Linked DNA regions of Homo sapiens: all the other regions are linked to region 1. The links are contacts of gene promoters, found by promoter capture Hi-C in blood cells and fetal thymus (Javierre and others, 2016). All regions are on one chromosome and are shown on one strand. The core of a region is centred on a gene start or on the middle of the fragment in contact, and the rest is flanking DNA. Distances in the headings are between cores, read along the strand shown.

Region 1 (4,195 bases), core at 1,285-3,784:
ATTGAATTCTCCTATTTATCTTTAAAAGACAGCAGAATATAGACATTCTATTAGCACTCCCTAAGGTAAGAGGTCTGCAGTCTTCTTATCTTGTTGTGTGCATCTTTTCAGATGCTACGACAATGTTAATCATTTTACCTGAGTAATTCTTCCATTTCTCGTTACCTGGGGGATTGTTAATGGCCGAGACTACTTCTCAGACTCTTTGCTCCCGCTCAATCAAGCCGTGGAGGCGCCAGTTTACTTTTATTGATCAGTGGGTTCCTGACAGCCTTCGCCACAAGGAAGCAGCATCATCCTTTTTTAACTTAAAGGGGGAACAGATCGCCTTAAAGTTTACAGCTAAAAGCTTCTAAGCATAGCATGCAAACATTTTAGCATGCTGCTAATTGTTCTGTTTAAATAGTCCAAGCAATATTTTAGAAAGCTGCCAAACGCCGAATTCACATCCCGTGATCAGATAGCAAACCCATTTCAAATGCCTTTTTAGGCCTTTTTAATTAGACCAAGATGCACTTCATTCCCATGCTCTGACATCAAAGGTAAATAACTGTGATAAATCAAATGGAACCCTTCCTTTCGCGGAGCCCGCGAGGTGCGCCCACCGCTGCCTGCCATGTTGTCATTCTCTACTACTTGCCCATTTCTCCAACGGTGTCTGGAGAAAACCGGTCGGGCCACCGGGCTCCCTTGAGCCACCACTCTGGTGTCCACCCGCAGCTCTAAATGACCAAAATTAAATGATACTCATTGCAGAAGCATCGGTTTTCTCCCTGTTGTTCTGGGCCGAATCACATCCTAACGTGAAACAGTGAAACGACCCCCACGCGGAAAGCGGATCAGGCTCCCTACGCTCTCCCTTTGGCCTCGGCTACATATTCAGGGGATCGCAATCTCACTCGCGAAATAATTTCTTTCTGTAAGAGGAAGCCGCCTTTCCCCTCTCCCACCGCCAAGGTAAAGGCTGCTAAAGTAGCTCTTCTTGGAAGGAAAAATATTTTAAAAAGCAGCTGGGTTGCTCTCCACAAGAAGATGGCAGTTTTGAGAAAACCCATTATGTGTCCAAATGCCGGTTTCCTTTTCTTGTTTAACGCTTTTTAGAGGGCAAAAATGACGCTCATGTGAAGCCCACAGGCTCGAGCCAATGTCGCTGGGCTAATTATGAGTCTGCTTATCCCACTCCCAAATATCCGAGACGACTCACTCAGAAGACATTTTTACTCTTCCAAGAATTGTGAATTCAGAAGCAGCTTCCCCACATTCTAAGAGAAAAAAAAACTTGTTTAACGGGCACGTTTTTGATTTTTTTGCCGCTGGCGACCTTAATTAAAAGCCTCAGAGCCCGGGTGGGGAGGAATGCCCCGCTGCCCCCAGGGAGCCTTCAGTGCAGAAGGCAGGATGAGCTTGATGTCAGCCCTGGCCACGCCGGCCTCCCGCTTCCCAGTACTGGCACATGCCGCAGCCACCACCGCCGCCCAAGTGGAGCTGGCAGCCCCCTGGGACCGAGACCCCGCGGGAAGGCTGGGGCGCCCTGCACATCGGCGCCGGCTCCCAGCTGTCGGCGACCTAAGCGGACATGTATGGCGTGCCCGCCCCAGAGCTCCTGCCCGGCTTTGAGCTCTGCTGGCTTGGCGCGGCGCGGCGGCGTCCGCTCCACCGGCTCTTCTCAAACGTACAGTTTATTTATAGGGAGCTAAATTCTCCAACAGGGTGGGGTGAGGGGCAATGAAATGTGTCCGGCCCCCTCCGTAGCTCATTCTCTGTGCCACATATCCCATTTGATTAACAAGCAACAGACAAGAGCGAACCGATCCAGGGGCCCTGCTGGGAGTGCGGCACGCAGAGAGTAGTGCGGCGTCTGCCCGGGGTGGAAGGATGGGGGTGACGGTCCGGGGGGGTGGCGGCCGTGGCTCTGGCCTGATGTGAAGACACACCGGCTAAGAGCTGGATGAATGACCACCTCAGGGGCGCTTTCTCCTTCCCTTTCTTCCTTCCACTACCAGAGAATGAGAAGAGAGGAAAACAAAAACAGACGATTTTTTAGGGTGAAGAGACAAGGAGAAATAGAGGGATATATATATGTGTGTATATATATATATATGTGTATATATATGTATATATTATATTCAAGATATGAAGATATGTAAGGGAGGTAAACACGATAAGACAATCATATCATCCTCATCTTTCCTGAAATCTCTGCAAACATGAGAAGCGCACAGTTCCCGGCGAGGCTCAGCCGCAGCGCCAGCACACCGCCTCCCTGCTCATTCCTGCCCTATTGCTCCTGCCTGGCCTGCCTGGCCTGTCTGTCCGTCCTCCCATGAATCCCGCCAGGGCTCCATGGGCCGGGGTACCACTTGGTCCCGCCGGTGTGAAGTTTCCGCTTGGCCCCGCCCCCCCGCTACCCCCCGCCTCCGCTTGGCCCCGCCCCAAGACTGGAGCCCGCTGGCGGCGCGCTGATTGGCCAGGGCCTGGCGTAGCCGGGCTCGGCAGCTTGAGCTTTCTCCGGCTTTCTCCAGACTCCGCGGCCAGTAGTTTGCGGCATCCGGAGGAGCAGCAGCAGCAGTAGCGGCGGCGGCTGGCGCAGCGCGGAGACGGACGAGCGGGCACAGACGGCAGCACAGCTCCCGTGCACCATGCCTGGCTTGCCCGGGAGGCACTGGCACCCGCGTCCCTAGCCCGGCGCTGGCCCTTGGCGCGTTGCGCTCCGCAGCATTCCGGCTGAGCGATTTCATCCGAAATCCTAAACCTCCTACCCCAAACCCATTGCCTCCTGCTTGCTCATACTCCACACTCACACTCCCCACACCACACACTCACTCTTCCTCTCTCTCTCACACATTCACACACAGCCCGAGACAGACAGAGAAAGCGAGACAGACCTCCCGAGTGCGCGAGCGCCCGGGAGGAAGGGAGCCCAACGCAGCGCGGCCAGCGCCTCTCCGGGAAGATGAAATCAAGACGCTCCTGCAAGTAAACTTCGGCGGCGACAAAATCGTCGACTGTGGCAGCTGCTGAGGCGGACCCCAGCGACGTGCAACTGAGCTAGGAGGGCTTCCTCCCGCGGCGGCGGCGGCGGCGGCGGCGGCGGCGGACCTTGGAGCGACACCCCAGCCCAAACGGAGAGAAGAGAAGCACCCGGTACCCACGGCGGCGGCCCCGCCTCTCCTGGCCGGTACTGTTGTTGCCTCCCCTTCCCTCTTCCCCATTCCCCGCCACCCCCGGCCATTAGAAAGACCGGGGCTTTGATTTTCTTGGACAAATTGCCATCTCCCCGTTTCCACAAACTTGACGTGGAGGGTCGGACTGCGTTGTTAACTTTGATTTCCTAGACGAAAACGCCCGCAGACCCTCAACTGCTCTGTGGGGGGAACTCCGCTCCCACCTCGGATCCTGGACAGACGCGCCCCCAAGCCCTTCGAAGCCAGCCTTAGCGCGAGGGAGCGCGCTCAAGCTCTGGCAGCCTCTCTCCCCTCCCCCTTCCTCTGCTGGCCCCGGGACCGCCATCCGACTCAACCCTATAACCGGGTGCCCGCGGCGCTTGCCAGTAACTGACTCCCGTCTGCGACACCCCCTTTCTCCCGAACAGGCCTCGAAGAGGCCAGTGTGGCCCCCCCAGACCCCGGAGGGCGCATTCCAAGCGGGTACTCTCTCCGCAGTGAACTGGGAGCGCTGGGGGGAGGTCTTTGCGCATGCCAGGTGCACAGACAGCGAGTTCGCCAGCCTCAGTGCCGGTGCACCGCGGCGGGCCGGGCAGTGCCTGAAAGGCTGCGCCTCCTCCGCCCTCTTTACCTTCGCCTCAAGTACTGTCCGGACTCAGCGGTGCGTCCTCCAGGCCGCGCAGACGCCGCCCGACCCGCAGCCCTGGGCGGCTGCCGACAGTCGCGCCCGGCTAACTTTGAAGGGGTAAAACTGAGTAGCCGGGCTGGAGGGAGGGGGCTCGGGGCCGCGCGGCGCTCCCTTGGCCCCTCGGAGCCCCCGGGGCCCCCGCGAGCCCCCGCCGCGTCCGCCGCAACCTCAGCATTGGAGCCGCCGCGGGTGTCCCCCGCGCGCCGCCGGGCCGCCCTGGGCGGGACTTCTCCCGCGGCCTCCGGGGCCACGGGGCGCGCGCAACAGGCGGCCCGAGCCGGCGGGAAGCTGGAGCGCCGACGGCGTCGGTCTCGGAGGGGTGTGGAGAGGCGAGGCCAGGCAG
Region 2 (4,195 bases), core at 819-3,318, 4.6 Mb after region 1:
TTCAGTAATTAGAGAATTTCATCATTTGAATTTGACTGGGCTCTCTTTCATTCCTAACAACATGAGCCATTTCAGCTGTGCTATACCATTGCATTAAAAGGTCACATTTCCACTGTCAGAGCAAAAAGTGAAAAATTGAAGAATTCTATTATACAAATAATGCAGATTCTGTTTTTTTTTTTCATTTTTGCCTAATGTTACTCAGGTAATTATTCCATTGTGTTTTGACCTCAGAATGTAATTACTGACAAAGAAATAAAGATTAAATATATCTTTACAGTGTAAACAACTCTGTTGCCATCCTTTGTTACAGCCAGGTTTAAAACTTAAAATGAATCTATGAGATGGGGAAAAATTTAACATAAATACAAGCTGTTAAAATGGAATGCTGTTATGTTTAGTATACTGTTAGTATTTTGTAGAGTATAATGCTTAGGGAGCTGCATCTTACTTCTTCATTCATAGCCATCATGTTTCTACCAAAAAGAAGAGATATTGAACAACCCCTTTCTCTATCCCCTGCTGCTGACTGTGTAGTAGGCGATGGGACATTTCACTGATCGCTTCTGCATTTGTATTAGGATCTTCTTTTTCTTGTTTGATTTAAACCATAAAGAACTGTTGTTGCATGCTGATGAGACACTGGGTAAAGTCTCCAGTTAGGTTTTTCTTTTTTTCATTTAGCTAATTTGTTTCAGAAAGTTAGACACCTGTCTTGCTTTTAATCAGGATCCTCTAAGGTCAGTTAAAATCATTTTCCCATAGCTGTTTAAGATGTGCATGTGGCTGGCTGCCTGACCAGGTGAATAAGTAAACATTTCAGTCATTGCTCATGAGAATAAATCACCTTGCTTGGATGGGGCTTGGAGAGAAAAGTGAATCAAATGCCACAGAGTCTTAACTGTAGCTGTCTCCCTGCTTGGTGGAATGCCTCCATCCTTTGTGATGCAAATAGTAATTTATTTCTTCCCAACAGCAGGTCAGCCACAAGGATTTAGTTTCCTTCCAAGGTAGGGGAGCTGATTTAACCTGCCGCTATGCTTTTCTACAAGATTCTTATTTACAACAGTTTCTTAATGAGTTATGTCAGAGTAGCTGCTGGTATGATCCTTTTGATATCAGGGCCTGTGAAGCAGAATGGTTAATGATGAACGCCTTGCTAGTTTCAGTGAACATTACAGAGTGACTGACTACAGCACCATGGACTAGATGCCAAACTCATAATAAATGGAACAGTGCCACCTTTTGGCCATAAAGTAGGGACACAAACTAGGAAGGCTAGGATTCTGTAAGTCACACAGTTTATTTAAAACTATTTATGACGGATTTAGTGGTCATGCAATCCTCAAATAATAGCAACCAAATTCTATTTTTCTCTTTATTTTCTTCCTTTTTTCCCCCACTGTGGCAGTATCTATGCTTTGACTGTATGCATTTCATATAATAATGATGCTTTGGAGAGGCTAAATTTTGCTACATTCCAATTATGTTTTGCACAAGAATGAATTAAGCATGCATTATGCAGATAATATGAAGGATAACATGGTTACCATTGTACATATAGCAACTTCTTTTATACAGTGACAACTAGTTTGTGGAAACTTTTGGAAAGAATTTTGAAAGAAGGCAATTAATTGAGTATTGCAGTATTTGTTTATGATTGTGAATTGGACACTGATTTTAATTTAAAAAAATATTTTGGGTCTGCCTTTTTCTTTCCCTATGTATTGTTTCTCGTGAAGCAATAACACACCAATTAATTTGAGTATAGTTAATCAAAAACATTCACACATTGAAATTCATTTTTCTCTATCCATTTTTTAGGAACATTTTATTTTGTAGAGCAGTTTCAGGTTCACAAAAAAGTTGAGAGAAAGATACAGATTTCCCATATACTCCCTGCCTTCCACACGTGCATAGCCTCCTCTGTCATCAACATTCCCCACCAGAGTGGTTTGTTAAAATTGGTGAACCTACACTGACATATTGTAATCACTCAAAGTTCATATTTGACCTTAGGGTTCACTCTTGGTATTTATTATACATTTGAAGGGTTTGGATAAATGTACAATGTTATCTGTCTACCATTGTAGTATCCATACTCAATTTTTAGAAGAAAGAGGCAAGTTAGCAGACAGCTTTGTGATAGTAAGGGTTTAATCAAGAAAGAAAATCTCAGGGTATGTCATGACAGATATCAATAAGCAATCAGCCCAATTTCCTATACCATTTACAGTTTAGTCGAAGTCAAATGGTGATAGATGTCCAGAACATGAAAAACTTGTATTCTATAATTCTAAAAAAATTCTAAAATAAACAAAAATATGTTCACTGGCTACTTACTGCAAGACAAAAAGTTTTTTTGTGTTCAAAATTAGTGCATAGCTCACAATCCTAAAAGAATATTGCAACATTCATTTAAATTTTCTTTTTATAAAAAATTTCCCAAATATTTTCTCATATCAGTTGTCACTGCATAAAATAAACTTCCATGCATACTGAAACATTTTTAAAAGTTTTTGACATTTATTAAATGAGAAGTTTAATCTGCATCTTAATGGTAAATTATTGGAGACAGTTTCCCTCCAATCTTAAGTGGACATTTAGGCATTTCAGCAAAATTGGTAAAAGTTATTTTTGAACTATTGGACCTTTCCAACAGTGAAGGTTGATGCTTATTCGACTAGACATAGGACACCTTTTCAAAGTGAGAGAGGGTGAAAACTTGTTTCTGTGGGTGACTTAATGGCTCTTATTCAAATGCCACCCACACCTTAGGCCTTCTATTGGATTGATGTATTTAATCATAACCCTTGGGCTGGCTCCTGAGGCTTTTCCACCTAGCTTCTATATTTTGGTGTTATCATTCTAGACAAAGTTTTAAAATGAGTAGAATGTTTGCTTTTTTTTTTCAAATCATCAATACTATGTAATCCAGCATGTTTCCCATTGTGTCTTAGTAGCTAGAAAATGAAGAAAATGTCAGTCCCAAACAGTAGTAACTAATATATCTCAGGTACCCAAGAACATTAAGTTTCTCCAGATCTCTTTGATGATCCCTATTCTGTTTATCATATTAATTATCATGAATTGCATTACACTTTATTTTGATAGGTTTTAGTCACCTCAGGCTGCCGTAACAGACTGGGAGGCTTAAACAACAGAAATTTATTTCTCGTAGTTCTGGAGGCTGGAATGTCCAAGGTCAGGGTGCCAACAAAACAGATTACATCCTGAGGCCTCTTGGTTTGTAGGTTGTGTGCTCACATGACCCCTTTCTTTGTGCATGTGCAGAAACAGAGAGAAGACAGAGAGAGAGAGAGAGAGAGAGAGAAACAGAGTGAAAGAGCGAGTTCTGGTGTCTCTTCTTATAAGGGCACTAGGGGGCTCTACTGTCATGACCTCATCTCATCCTAATTACCTCTGGAAGGCCCCATCTCCAAATACCATCACACTGGGAGTTAGGGCTTCAACATATGAATTTTGGAGGGACACAATCATTCTATCAAAAACAGATAGTTTCTTCAAATCCTTTAGGAAATAAATAGGGCTCAACTATAAAACTCTAAAATATCACATGTGCAAGAGCTTGTGTTAGGCACTGAAGAAGATAGAAATATATTTAAAATAAGAATTCTACTTTTGAAGAGTTTTTACTTGTCATTAAAACAAATGCAAATACAGTCATACAGCCCATAATGTTTGGGTCAATGACAAATCACATATGTGATAGTGGTTCCTTAAGATTATAATGAAGCTGAAAAATTCCTGTTGCCTGGTGGCATTGTAGCTGTCAAAATGTCATAGTACAAAACATTGCCATGTACTTATGGTGATGTCAGTGTGAACAAACCTACTGTGCTGCTATTCATATAGAAGGACAGCACATACAATTATGTACAGTGTACAATACTTGATAATGATAATAAACGATTACATTACAGGTTAATGTATTTATTACTATTAATACTATACTATACTATACTATACCTTTATGATTAGAGTGTACTCCTTATTTAGAAAAGAGTTAACTGTAAAACAGCCCAGGCAGGTCCTTCAGGAGGTATTCCAGAAAAAAGACATTGTTATCATAGAAGGTGGAAGCTCCATGTGTATTATTGCCCCCAAAGGCCTTCCAGTGGGACAAGATGTGGAGGCAGAAGACAGTGTTATTGATGATCCTGACCCTGTGTAA
Region 3 (4,195 bases), core at 1,148-3,647, 4.0 Mb after region 1:
GCGAGACCATCCTGGCTAACACGGTGAAACCCCGCCTCTACCAAAAATACAAAAAATTATCCAGGCATGGTAGCAGGGGCCTGTAGTCCCAGCTACTCGGGAGGGTGAGGCAGGAGAATGGTGTGAACCCGGGAGGCGGAGCTTGCAGTGAGCCGAGATCGGGCCACTGTACCCCAGGCTGGGCGACGGAGCGAGACTCCGTCTCAAAAAAAATAAAAATAAAAAAAATAAACATTTACCAATAAAAAATTAGTGAAGATTCTTAGAAGGGACCTGGGCAAGTTGGGGGACCTAAAGCTTCATTAGTTTCATGGTAAGTCTGCCTGTGGGCTAGGGTAGTGATGAACAACCTTTAGGGTGCAGGGTGCATTAAATGTATGTGAGTGGTATGTTAAAAAATGTAGATTCTTGGGGCCCATGCTTCAAGATTCAGATTCAGTAGATCTGAGTTTGAGCCCTGGAACCTTGGAGCTTTTGTGGTCTGAGGTATCTACCTATATTTCACACTTTGAGAAACATGGTACAGCACAGAGAAGGCACCTGAGGGAAGGAGCAGGACCTTATTCTCCAGTGGATGGTTAAAGGTTTCAGTTATGCAAGATAAATAAATTCTGGAGATCTACTATACGGCATAGTGCCTGTAGCTGACAGTACTATATTGTATATTTAAAATTTGCTAAGAGGATAGATCTTAGTGATCTTACCAGAAGAAAACCTCCCCAAACAAATGAAAAACTCCACAGCACAATAATAATAAAGGAGCAGGGAGGAAACTTGGAGATAATGAATATTTTTATGGTCTTGATGGTGGTGATAGTTCCATGGGTATATATTTGTCCCCAAATTCATTGAGATGTAGACATTAAATATGTACAGCTTTTTATATGTCAATTCTACCTTGACAAAATGGTTAGAAAAATAGGAAGAAGAAGCCAGAGATAACTTTTAAAGAAGGCAATGGTCCTCATGGCTATGCGACTCTAGAGCCACATCCACAATCGCCATTCCTACTGCTTCTTCATGTCTTGTTCTTCTCTGCATGAAATATACACATTCTTTCACATGCCCACAAAATGAATATGTCACAAAATGCCTAAATTTAGTGAATTGACTTATTGCATCTATTTATTTTGCATATCCAGGACAATGCAAGAGAAAATGCAGGCTTTTTTCATAAAGAAGCATTTTCATTATTGAAAAGAGGACCTATATGTTATATGGTAGCCACATTTCTTGGAAAATTGCAAGAAGGACAGATGAGATCTTTGACATTAACCCTCTGCAAGGGTAGTCCTTTGCCCATATATAAAGGGGAGATGAATGTTTGGGCAGGAAGAGGGACAGAGGGGCAATGTGGCTGACTTGTGGTCCAAGATATACTCTTCCACTCTTGGGGGACTAAGATCAACAGAGAAATATTTCTGTTTAGCTGGTTTCATAGTAAGAACCACATATGATGAGAGACTGTAGTTACTATACTTTATTATCATATAATACTCTTATACACAAATATGAGCTGCATGCCAGAAAGTCTTTGTATTAGTCAAGATTCTCCAGAGAAACAGAGACAATAAGATTCTTTTCCTTAGGATATGTATGCATATAGAAAAATTTTTTTCTATATGCATACACATCCTATTAGGAAAAGAATTAACTCACATGATTATGGAGGATGGCAAGCCTAAAATTTAGAGTGTGGGCCAGCTGGATTGAGACCTAGGAGAGCTGATATTCCAGTTCCAGTAGGAAGGCTGGCAGCCTAGAGACCCAGGAAAGCTGATGGTGCACATAAAATCTGAAAGCAGTGTGCTGGATAATTCATTCTTGTTTGGGCAGGCCAGTCTTTTTGTTCTATTGAGGCCTTCAACGGATTGGAAGAGGCCCACCCACATTACAAGGATCAGTCTGCTTTATGCACAGTTCACTGATTTAAATGTTAACTTGATTCAGAAACACCTTCCAAGATGACACATACAATTAAACATCATAGTCATATAAGTCATGGTTTTCTCTATTTCATTGTGGAGGACACAATGTGTGGGGCAATGGGCCTCCTCTCAAGGCATCCACTGGAGCCAAGCACCTGCCATATGGAAACTTTCTATCATTGGCAGAGACCATCTGTTTTATTTTTGGGCATTCGGAAACCACCTAGCAAAAGAAGGTCCTAAACTCTTGAATGGTTTCTATTTCTGAGATTATATAATAAGCACTTGCATGCTTCCCATCACTCACAGTGCTGAGGGTGTCCATGAGACTATTTCCTAATTCCTACTTTTCCCCCAACCCAAGTATGATTTATCCTCCTTATCAATACAATGTCGCTTTATTTTCAGATTCGTCATTGTGCAGTTTATCACACTCCATGCTGTAATACAGGTAGTTCTGAATATGTTGTAGCCACCTGTCCTTCCTTCCCCCTCTCCCCACCACTAATTTATGAGCTACTTGAGAGCAGGTATTGTGGGTCACTTATCTTCATGTCCCTCATTACATCTAGCAATGAGCCTTGCTCACAGTAGGTGCTTAAACGGTATTGGTTGAAATTAGTTGGATTGCATTTGTGGGGCTCTAAAATAGTTCTGACCAGCGCTTACTTGAAGTAAATTGGAAAATAGTTTTCTCATAAACTATAGCCTGACAACCAGAGCCCTAGCATTTCAAATCTTGATCCTTGTGTTCCTGTAGCTCCTCCTAGTGGGAAGGTTGCAAAATTTCTTGGCTGCAGGATTACTGCAGCCGAGTTATTACTGCTAGAAACAACAGGAACCACCACCAAACGAAACATAAACCCTTTGTAGGAAATATATATAGTTTAAATTTTTACCTTTTTTAAGGTTTATAGCTGGGCCCAAAGTTTCTAAAAGGTCTATTCAGCCTCTGTGAGAAGCAACTGGGGTTATTTTCGGAGATGTAACCCATGGGTATTGATATACACCACGGCATTCCTTGGTAGCCAAGCATAGGGCTAAGATGAGAACTATTTGGCTACTTCTTAATATTTAAGTGGATGAGCAGCAAACATCTTTCTCCGTCTTCCTGAGCTCCATTCTGCAATTGCAGTGCAGCAGGACGACAGTGCATTTACTGTGGCATGCTGTTGGCCCCATGCACTTCCCCCTTTCCCCCATAGATCTCGGCAGTGCCTTCTGCTTTGGTCCTGACAGGTAGGTCAGTTGGTTTCAGTCTGCCTGGCTGATTTATGCTGCTTTAGGATCCCTTAAGCCTATGCTTCTGGTAGCCTGTACTTCAGATAAAAGTGTTTTTGATTTTTGCATTTCTCTATAGAAACCATAGCCTCTTTTCTTTAATCCCAATGTTTTCAGGGGATGTCTGGGCATTATGTATGCATGTTTAATGATTCATACTCCTAGGATTTTGAGTTTGTTTTTAACTGAACTGTATCTGTTCTCTTATAGAATTTTAGAAGTATTAAAAATAATGTAATAAGCCTTTGCAATGTCTGTTTTTAGGAGGTTGATTGCAGTAATTTTTTTAAACCAACTGATGCACAGTATACAGTACATTCCCCAAATCTGTTGTATATAGGGTAAAAAAATCTTCAAATGGAAAAATCTTCCTTCTTTGCTGTGAGCAAAATAATTAACTATTTGACCACTGATCCATACCAGTGAATGTGATGCCCCTTAGCTTTTCTGAGGTTATGCATAACTCTTGTCTATCCAGCTTCATAAACTGTGGAGTAGGCTTTCTGGAGACAAAGATCTGAGAGTGAACATTATAACATGAATCAGCCCTAGCTACAAATTTGATGTAGTGTTTGCTGGAATTGACAGCAAAAGACAACATTAATCCACATACTAGTGCAGCAGTGGTTTCATTTCATCCCTCTGCAACTACGTGACTTGGAATATATTTGTGTTTTCATTTTATTTCAGTGCCTTTGAGCATACAGTATGGTACCTTTTTTGAGCCATGACATAGGTTTGAAGCAATACAGTTTATACCTGTGCAGTACTCCTCATTAGAGAAGTGTTTCTCGGTTAAGATTGTTGTCTCTCTACCTGGAAACATAAAACATAAAGTCATACTGTAAGGATAAAGACTATCAATGTATGGTTGGCTCAGTTAACTGGAACCTCATGTTCACTCTTCTAGGTATATTCTGCTTTGTCAGAATCTCTTATGTGATCTTGGACAAGGTATATGATTTCATTTTCTACTCTTAGATTAA
Region 4 (4,195 bases), core at 911-3,410, 3.6 Mb after region 1:
TTATGCAATGTTAAGTGTAATCAGGCATCAGATTTTTTTACCAGCTCATAGTCCCTGAAAAAATTATCAATAGAAATTTTGTTTTTTCCAATATTGCCTTTTCTTTTCTTTCCTTCTTATGGCAGGTATACTATCAAGGTTGAAATAGTACACCTTCTTATGGCAGGTATACTATTAAGGTATTTTAGTATATAAATGTTACATTTAAAGTCATGCATTAAGTTCAGAAGTAAACTTTAGGTTGAAAACAAATATTTTTTATTGTTATAAATTTAAGGTGTACGATACTGTTTTATATTATACTTGAAAATTATAAAAAAGATAGATTACTTATTATTCTAGTTTTCTAGGTAATCCTAGCATTTCTATTATAAGATCAGAATTTTCTACATAATGTGAAGACAAAGAAGCATTTTACATCTAAACATGCACATGTTCAGAAGGAGGAAATAGTTCAAAAATTGCAGCTCCAACTGAGCTTTCCTAATGGATAAGTGATAAAAGAATTTCTGAGAGGCAGAATTGTGTTTAAGAAAGCAGGAAGTAAACTCATAGTCCTAAACATAATTTTATCCAAAAATCCAAATATAAATCAAATCACTGTTATCAGATTCCCACACTTGAATATCAAGCAGTGTCCAAAAAACAGCTAAGCCACAATACAAAACCATTAATCCGATAGCAGTTATTATCAAAATGTGTTCTATTTTTCAGCTAGTGCTTTAAAAATAAAAATCAAATTTAACTGAAACCCCAGTAAGAATCCTATGTTGAAAAGGATATCATAAAATACAAAAAGATAATGACAGTTTCCAAGTAAATTATTTCAGAAGAATCCATGAATCTCAGAATACAGAAGCAGCTTTCTTAAATATTCATTCAGTAGACTATTTACAAGCAGTGATTATTTAGTTGAATAAAAGCCTCTTTGGTGCCATTAACAGTCTTCTGAATTAAAAGATATGCTATTGACCTCAATTATTTCCTCCCACCGAAAAGACAGAGGTCGTATTTGTCCCTTGTTTATTTAGCACAGACATGAGACTAACAAAAGAATGTGAGCCTGCGTTAACAATTAAAGCAGGTCTATACTCAGTGAAACAACCAGAATATGGCCCATTTAATGATTCATTTGCATTGCAAAATAACTGCATTTAGCTAAAGCACAAACGGCAATAGATAAGATTTAGTACCCAACAGAAGCTAAGAGAAAATATTTTGGCCATGTCTGGGTTCAACTGTTTGATCATATCCAGATCATACCTGGAAAAGAGCTGAAAGAGTATCTGATAATGACAAAAGCAAAACCATAATACATGTATACACATACACATATAGATATACTGCAACTTTTAACTACTCATTATACAGGTCAGTCTAACAAATCTGCAGATGTAGCTAGCACCACTATTTTAAATTATTTCCTACTGAGATTAAAAAAAAAAAAACCAATGCTGCCTCTCAATGGTTCACATGTCTTAAAAAATATAACTTTACATATTTTAAAATTTCAAAGATTATGATTTAAATTCAAAATAAACCAATCCCTTAACATTCTAGGAATGACACTGGCATTTGACAAACTAACGTTGGGACTTCGGTGAATAACTTTTCCTCATAAATGTCTATATGTGCTGTTAAGTGCCCGTGAGATCCCCTCTAAATTACCAACATATTGTTTCAGGATTACCAATCGGTAGGACAACTTTTGCAATATTAACAAAGCTTGGTTTTCCATTTTCTGAAAACATATGCTGGTGTTTTGAAAATATAGACTCTTCCAGGTTATTTGTGGTCAAATTATCTACATATTCCTATTACCCTACGTCAGATCCATAACTACGCTTCCTACAATGAACAATGGAGGATAAAATGCAGAAAGAAGGTTCTTCTCCATCCCTCTATTTAAAGTTCATTCATCATGGACAGAGTTATTCAAACTTTTTCCTTTAACATTCACACAATTTAACATTCTCTATTATGGGACTTCGAGAAGAAAAAACTAAGCAATAGTTTTTATTATTATCTTATGGTTTCCTTTATAGTCTCCTTTTCCATGCTAATTTTAGCAAAGTTAATTATACGACAAAAGACTCTTGTTTGCTTTAGAAACGAGTTTTGACCACATATTGGTGTATAGCTTCATTTTACTTTTATGTCCTTACTCAAGAACCCAGGAGCATGATAGACATTTCTATCTAAAATCTGGTTTTAGATCCCATACAAAATGATTAATGCAGGTGTTAAACGGGGAAAATGTATGATTTACGTTTAAATTTCACTACAATTCTCACATGTTTTACATGTGACTATAAAACATTTCTCCACCAGGGACTCTAGCTCTTAACTTTGCTACCTCAAGATGAAAGCTGTGACTAACTAGAAAGCATTTTCATAAAGTAGTGGTAACTATCATGTCTACTCTAAATGCAAACTTTAGTGCTGTGATAATGAAAAGGTAAAAAGGTTAGATTATTGTTTGTCACTGAAGGCCAACCCTCTCACCTTCAAAAGGAAATTACATAACTAATTTTTGTGGTTTTAATGATAGAAAACATAGTACTAATTAACGTCTTTCCAAGATGAGAAAGCTTCAAAAATGCTTGTCAACAGGCTTTCTTCCATCATAGTATCTGGCCCACGAAAAATATTAGCAAAAATATGTATAATCCTGGAAATCTTATCAGAGTGCTGTGCATATTTCAGGTGCTCATATGTACACTGAATGAAACAAATAAGGGCCCTTAAGTAGTTCTGATTTTGAGGCTAATGCCTTAAACATAGAATTTTCATGTCTTTTGAGGAACATTGAATTTCCATCTTTTGAATAATGCAGTTCAAGTGAGCTCATCTAATATTTATCCAATTTTTTGCATTTTAATCTGAAAAATCAGTATATAACTTGAAGTGTGCATTTCTTTGGTCACTTGAAGAGGAAATAATATGAGAATAAATGAAAACAAGTTCTGCACAGAAATCATGTAATACTCAAAAGGTCAAGGAATAAGAGTTTCATATAATCATTATATTCAGTCCCACTTACACAAACAACAACAAATGAGCCAGAGACTCTAACAAAATCTTATCATTAAAACCACCACATGATTATTCATATGTTATTATCTGTACTTTGCACTCAGATTCAGTCATATAGATTTACTAGTGTATCAGCCTTTAGGTCTTTGAAAAATAACATTGAATGTACATCCTGCATTTCCTAAAGCATTTTATGGTGAACAATAACTTGAGTGCAAAAATGAGAAGAGATTCATCAGAATTTCAAAGTAAAACCCTATGCATCACCTAATTCTATTGAAAACGACGCTCATGGCAAATTTCACTTATCACTTGAAACATATTTCTGCCCTTGGATACCAGAAGCAAATTTAAAAACATGCTGTTGCTCTGCTATGGCGGAGCTGCAATGTGTTATGTTTAAATAGCTCAGCATTCAGATTTAGCTTGTTTCAAGTACAATATAGAATCAATACAATCGTAGAATTCATGGCAAAATGCATTAGTAATTGCCACTGGAATTGCTGTACTGAAATAGCATTAATAGGATAGCCAAATAACTTTAGAATATATTTTTTCAATGAAGACTTGTTTTCTGCAATGGTCAACTTATGAAATTTAAAACACATGACCTAAATAGTGTATGTGTGTGTACATGCATATGTATACACACAAAATATCACTGTGTGTGTATACATATATATACACACATATACACACATACAGTGATTTTATGAACTCTAGGTATTAAAAGCTTTTTCTTTACAGAAATGTAAAAGATGCATTTTGCTATTTCAAAAATACAATTTTTTCTTACCAAAAAAAAAAAAATCAAAGCTTAAGACTATATTTGGAAGTGCATTAGGAAGAGAACAGAGCAAAATACTCCACTAAAACACACAGTTTCCTAATAACAACAAGTCCTTTCAATGAACTTTACTTTCAAGTCTTGGGACTCACAAACAGATTTGATTAAAGCTCCTATTAGGTGACATCCTTTACATTAAATGAAGCTATACAATAGCAATTATGAGGCAGCTTAGTTTGCATCATATAAAATTATGAAAAAAGCTAACTGCGAATTAAAAAATATGGCTAAAAGTTTCATGCAAGTAGACACCAGACATGTAGCTTTAATGTAAACTTAAGCTGTGACTATACTAAGTTGTACCTTCTTCAA
Region 5 (4,195 bases), core at 822-3,321, 3.4 Mb after region 1:
GTCCATCTTACTTGCAACTTCCTCTTGGATGGCTTAAATAATCTTCCTTATATATAATAATATTTGTCAGTAGGTGATAATGAGTACAACTGCAAAATCACCTTGCTACTACAAACACCACATGTCCAAAAGTTAACTATAATAGTCCCTCCTTATCCATGGTTTCATTTTCTACAGTTTCAGTCACCCATGGTCAACTGCAGTCCAAAGATATTAAATGGAAAAATCCAGAAATAAACAATTCATAAGTTTTAAATTGTGTACCACTCTGAGTAACATGATACAATCTCTCAGTGTCCTGCTCCATCCCGCCTGGAACATAAATCATTCCTTCATCCAGCATATCCACAATGTGTATGCTACTCATCCATTAGTCGCTTAGTAGTTGTCTTGGTTATCAAATCAACTGTAGAGGTAACATGCTAGTGTTCAAGTAACCCTATTTTATAACGGCCCTAATGCACAAGAGTAGTGATGCTGGCATACTGTTTTTATTGTTCTACTTTATTATTATAGCTGTTAGTTTCTTACTATGGCTAATTTACAAATTAAACTTTGTTGTAAATACATACGTATTTGAAAAAAACATAGTATTTACAGAGTTCGGTACTATCCGCAGTTTCATTGTGGGTTTTATATCCCCCTGTGGATAAGGCAGGGCTACCGCATTGCTAATTAGAAGTAGCGAGGACTAATGTATTGTTAATTAGAAGCAAGTTCCATAAGATATACCTACATGCACACACACATGCACACACATACACAAGTAGCTGCAGAGAGCACTAAGTAAATTAAGAATTGTGTTCCTGAGTCAGCGCAAGCAAGGGCTTATTTATATAGTATGCTTCAGGTTTATTCTCACTAGAAAATGTTACAAACAATGACATTAACCATCCTTTGTTAAAATGAATTGATACTGAAGCCTGTGTTAACTAGATTACCTGAACAGAGAAGTGAATGGGTCAACTGCAGCACTGCATAGCCAAGAGCTTGAATTTTCCTTGTCCTTTAGGATTTTTTTTAATCCAGTTGATGTTTCAGTTGAAATGGCATTATTGCCATTAGCTTTAGGGTGCAGGTAGATTTAAAATACAGGAGTCGTGGCATTACAATCTGATGTATTCCCCCAAGGATCTGTTTCACATAATGATGCGACAATCCTAGTCTTTTGTGATTTTTATAACTTCACTAACAGCCTTAGTTTTTTTAGCAGAAGACTTTCTTTTTATATTGCCAATGAAAAATTTATCATTAATACTAGGAATGGCATCAAAATGGATAAAAACTAATGTTAGAAAATCCAAGTGAAAATCTATTAATGCCTATTACATATTCAGAGGCAAAATCTTGTTTTAAATTATTTGGATGATTATTCTAGAGAAGTATGTCTTAAATAATCATTGAACTCTTAGAATATATATATTCCGTATATATATTAGAATTCCATCCATATATGTAGAATATATATATGGAAACATTATTAAATTTAAAACTAAAATAGCACTGGCCTCAGGTTAGGGGAGGCAAGGAATATGCAAAGGAGTACACACACTTAAGAAATATGTGATTGTCAAGGATCTAGATTTTGTATTGGGTGGTGAGGTCAGAAGTACTTACTATATTATCATAAATAACTAATTAAATAAAAAGTCACCCTCAAATCAATGATAAGAGTGGGTTAAGAACAAAGGGATTGTGATTAGTTCAATTCTATTAATCCGATATCAAAAAACAAAACAAAATAAAACTGGAGGGATAGGGATAAAGTAGCACCAGCCATATAAAAATAAACATACTCTTACCATGATTGAGCAGTCATACTCCTTAGTATTTATCCAAATGAGTTTAAAACTTATATCCACACACACAGGAAAAACCTGAGCACAAACGGTTATGGCAGCTTTATTCATAATTACTAAAACTTAGAAGCAACCAAGATGTCCTTTGGTAGGTGCTGGTACATCCACACGGTGGAATGTTATTCAACGATAAAAGAAATGAGATTTCAAGCCATTGGAAGACATGGAACAACCTTAAATGCTCAGTGAAAGAAGCAGAAGCTCAGTGAAAGAATCCGGAAAGATTTAGGCAAAACCATGAAGACAGAAAAATGACCAGTGGTTGTCAGGGGTTTGGAGGGAGGAATGAAGGCATGAATAGGTAGGGCACGGAAGATTTTTAGGGCAGTGAAACCCATCTGTAAGATACTAAAATGGTAGATACATGATGTGTCAAAACACATAGAACTATATAACACAGAGAGTAAACTCTGAACTATGGACTTTAGTAATGTACCAATATTGATTATTGTGTAAAAAATGTACCACACTAATACAAGATAATAATAGGGGAAACTGGAGAGCAGGGAGGAGATGAGCATATACATAGGACTTTCCATGCAATTTTCCAGTAAACCTAAAATGCTCTTTAAAAAGTAGTCTGTTAATTAAAACAATAACAAATAGAATATAGCACTAGTCATTCGTGAATGGCTAATTAAGCTCATGGGTTTTTAATATATCACTAATTTCCTCTATTAAAATCAATGTATCTTAAGCAGGATTTAAAAGCAAAAGTATATGTGGTATATGTTGGTCTACTGGCAATGCTGTCGCAATAGCAGCAAAGCAAATGCAGTACTTCTCATAAAAATAAAAATGAAGAACCAATAATACCTGAATCTTGTTTTACTACCTTATTTGACAATGTCTGAAAAATAATTTTTAAAAATCACCCCAAAATGTTATAAAATAAACATGTACATATAAACTTTTACACTGAATTTTTAAGATGCTAGCCTCTCCTGTTTCACATATGAATAGGCAAATAAAATTAGAGGCCTGTTAACATGACAAGACAGCTGCACTTTATTTAAAATAATTAATCAACTGAATATATATGAGCATATGATGTTGGTGTGAAAGGAAACTTGGGGCATTTAGCCTCCTCCAGATCTGGTCTTGTAAAATACAGAAACATATTTTAAATGCATAAGTCAGATTAATAAATGCAAATGCTAAAACATCTTATGCTAACTAATAACTTCCAACATGTTTTGCAAGCAGCAATTTCCTTGCTCACCTAGGCAACTAAGATCCTGCTATATTTATGTGTTTCTCTCGAGTCCTGGCTCTCCACCATGCCATGCTGGCACAAAGTACTAAGTATAATTAATTTGTGGCAGGTCAGCTCCACTCACATGGCTTTTCCTCCTTCTATTAAGTTTATTTGGATTTCATGAAGATTGTGCCAGTAATTGGGAAAAAAGGGCAGTCAGGTAATTTCTTTTTAAGTCACACTACTGCAGCTGTCTTTTCTATCACATCATCATTGAAACATTTGAAAGGTGATTCATTATTGGGAATCACTTGCACCTCCAACTGCCATCGAGCTGCGCCATAAGATCACAGGTGGAGTCTAAAAAATTAAATTACATAAAATGGAGACTTGTGTTATCTTGAATTTAGTTAAAAACCATATATTTCAATTTATCTATATCATCTCATGAAAGCATTAAAACAAGGACAGTGGAACTTACATTGAACATATATGACTGTAAAATGAACAAAGAAGGTCCCAAATTCTTGAGGGTCACTTCCTAACTCTTCCTCCCCATTCAATGCATATGTGAATTCATGTTGTTGCCCAGTGCTTTATTGAAGTTTTACAGTATTTATGACCTTTCACTTAATGTACTATTTATAATCTTCCAAAAAGTAGTGTTCTTCTCTCACTACCATCAAACAAAGGAGAAAAAAGATAATTCTAAACAACTAATGTATAGTAAATAAAATTCATAGAGAAAAATAAGACTAATGATATTTACGATGTTTTCCTCAAAGGCCTATATTAAAAATATTTAGTGATTATCAAGTTTGTATTGAGAGACACACTTCAGGGTTAATGTTTTCTGGTAATTATGTTGACAAATATTAAAATAAGCACTTTCCAGTAGATGTGCCTAAAAAATTCCTGCAATTTTCTTCAGGCAGCTCCAAGGAAGGTGTTAAAAACAGAAGTAGTGCACAGCTTCATACCCACCACCATGATGGAGGCCCGTGACACACCTCACAGACTGCCAGTCGTGCCAAGGATTTAAAAAATAGTCACATTCAACATTAACCAGCAAGACTAGACCACCACCACGTTTCTCCGTGAAACTGATATATTCTCTTTCTTATCACACAACCATGAA

Evidence for each region. Contacts are between HindIII fragments. The CHiCAGO score rates a contact against its expected background, and 5 or more counts as called.
Region 2: a contact is called between a fragment that was not itself captured here and the fragment with the promoter of PCDH19 in region 1, in 1 of 17 cell types (M0 macrophages). The highest score is 5.6, in M0 macrophages.
Region 3: a fragment that was not itself captured here is called in contact with the fragment with the promoter of PCDH19 in region 1 in 1 of 17 cell types (naive CD8 T cells); the score reaches 5.7 in naive CD8 T cells.
Region 4: a fragment that was not itself captured here is called in contact with the fragment with the promoter of PCDH19 in region 1 in 3 of 17 cell types (total B cells, naive CD4 T cells and naive CD8 T cells); the score reaches 6.1 in total B cells.
Region 5: a contact is called between a fragment that was not itself captured here and the fragment with the promoter of PCDH19 in region 1, in 1 of 17 cell types (endothelial precursors). The highest score is 6.1, in endothelial precursors.

What each region holds. Positions count from the first base shown.
Region 1 is chrX:100,408,612-100,412,806 of GRCh38, reverse strand. PCDH19 (protocadherin 19) reads left to right here and starts at 2,534. Exons shown (of 6, transcript NM_001184880.2): 1 at 2,534-4,195. The HindIII fragment of the contact is 4,339 bases long and covers 352-4,195 here.
Region 2 is chrX:95,762,107-95,766,301 of GRCh38, reverse strand. No RefSeq gene overlaps it. Among named protein-coding and RNA genes, the nearest start is that of MIR548M, 700 kb to the right of the region's middle. The HindIII fragment of the contact is 4,443 bases long and covers 1-4,195 here.
Region 3 is chrX:96,371,450-96,375,644 of GRCh38, reverse strand. The region is part of intron 1 of LOC105373294 (a long non-coding RNA gene); the gene reads left to right. Among named protein-coding and RNA genes, the nearest start is that of DIAPH2, 310 kb to the left of the region's middle. The HindIII fragment of the contact is 4,195 bases long and covers 300-4,195 here.
Region 4 is chrX:96,758,598-96,762,792 of GRCh38, reverse strand. The region is part of intron 4 of DIAPH2 (diaphanous related formin 2); the gene reads right to left. Among named protein-coding and RNA genes, the nearest start is that of DIAPH2, 76 kb to the right of the region's middle. The HindIII fragment of the contact is 866 bases long and covers 1,728-2,593 here.
Region 5 is chrX:97,016,865-97,021,059 of GRCh38, reverse strand. All of the region lies in intron 17 of DIAPH2 (diaphanous related formin 2), which reads right to left. Among named protein-coding and RNA genes, the nearest start is that of RPA4, 140 kb to the right of the region's middle. The HindIII fragment of the contact is 6,977 bases long and covers 1-4,195 here.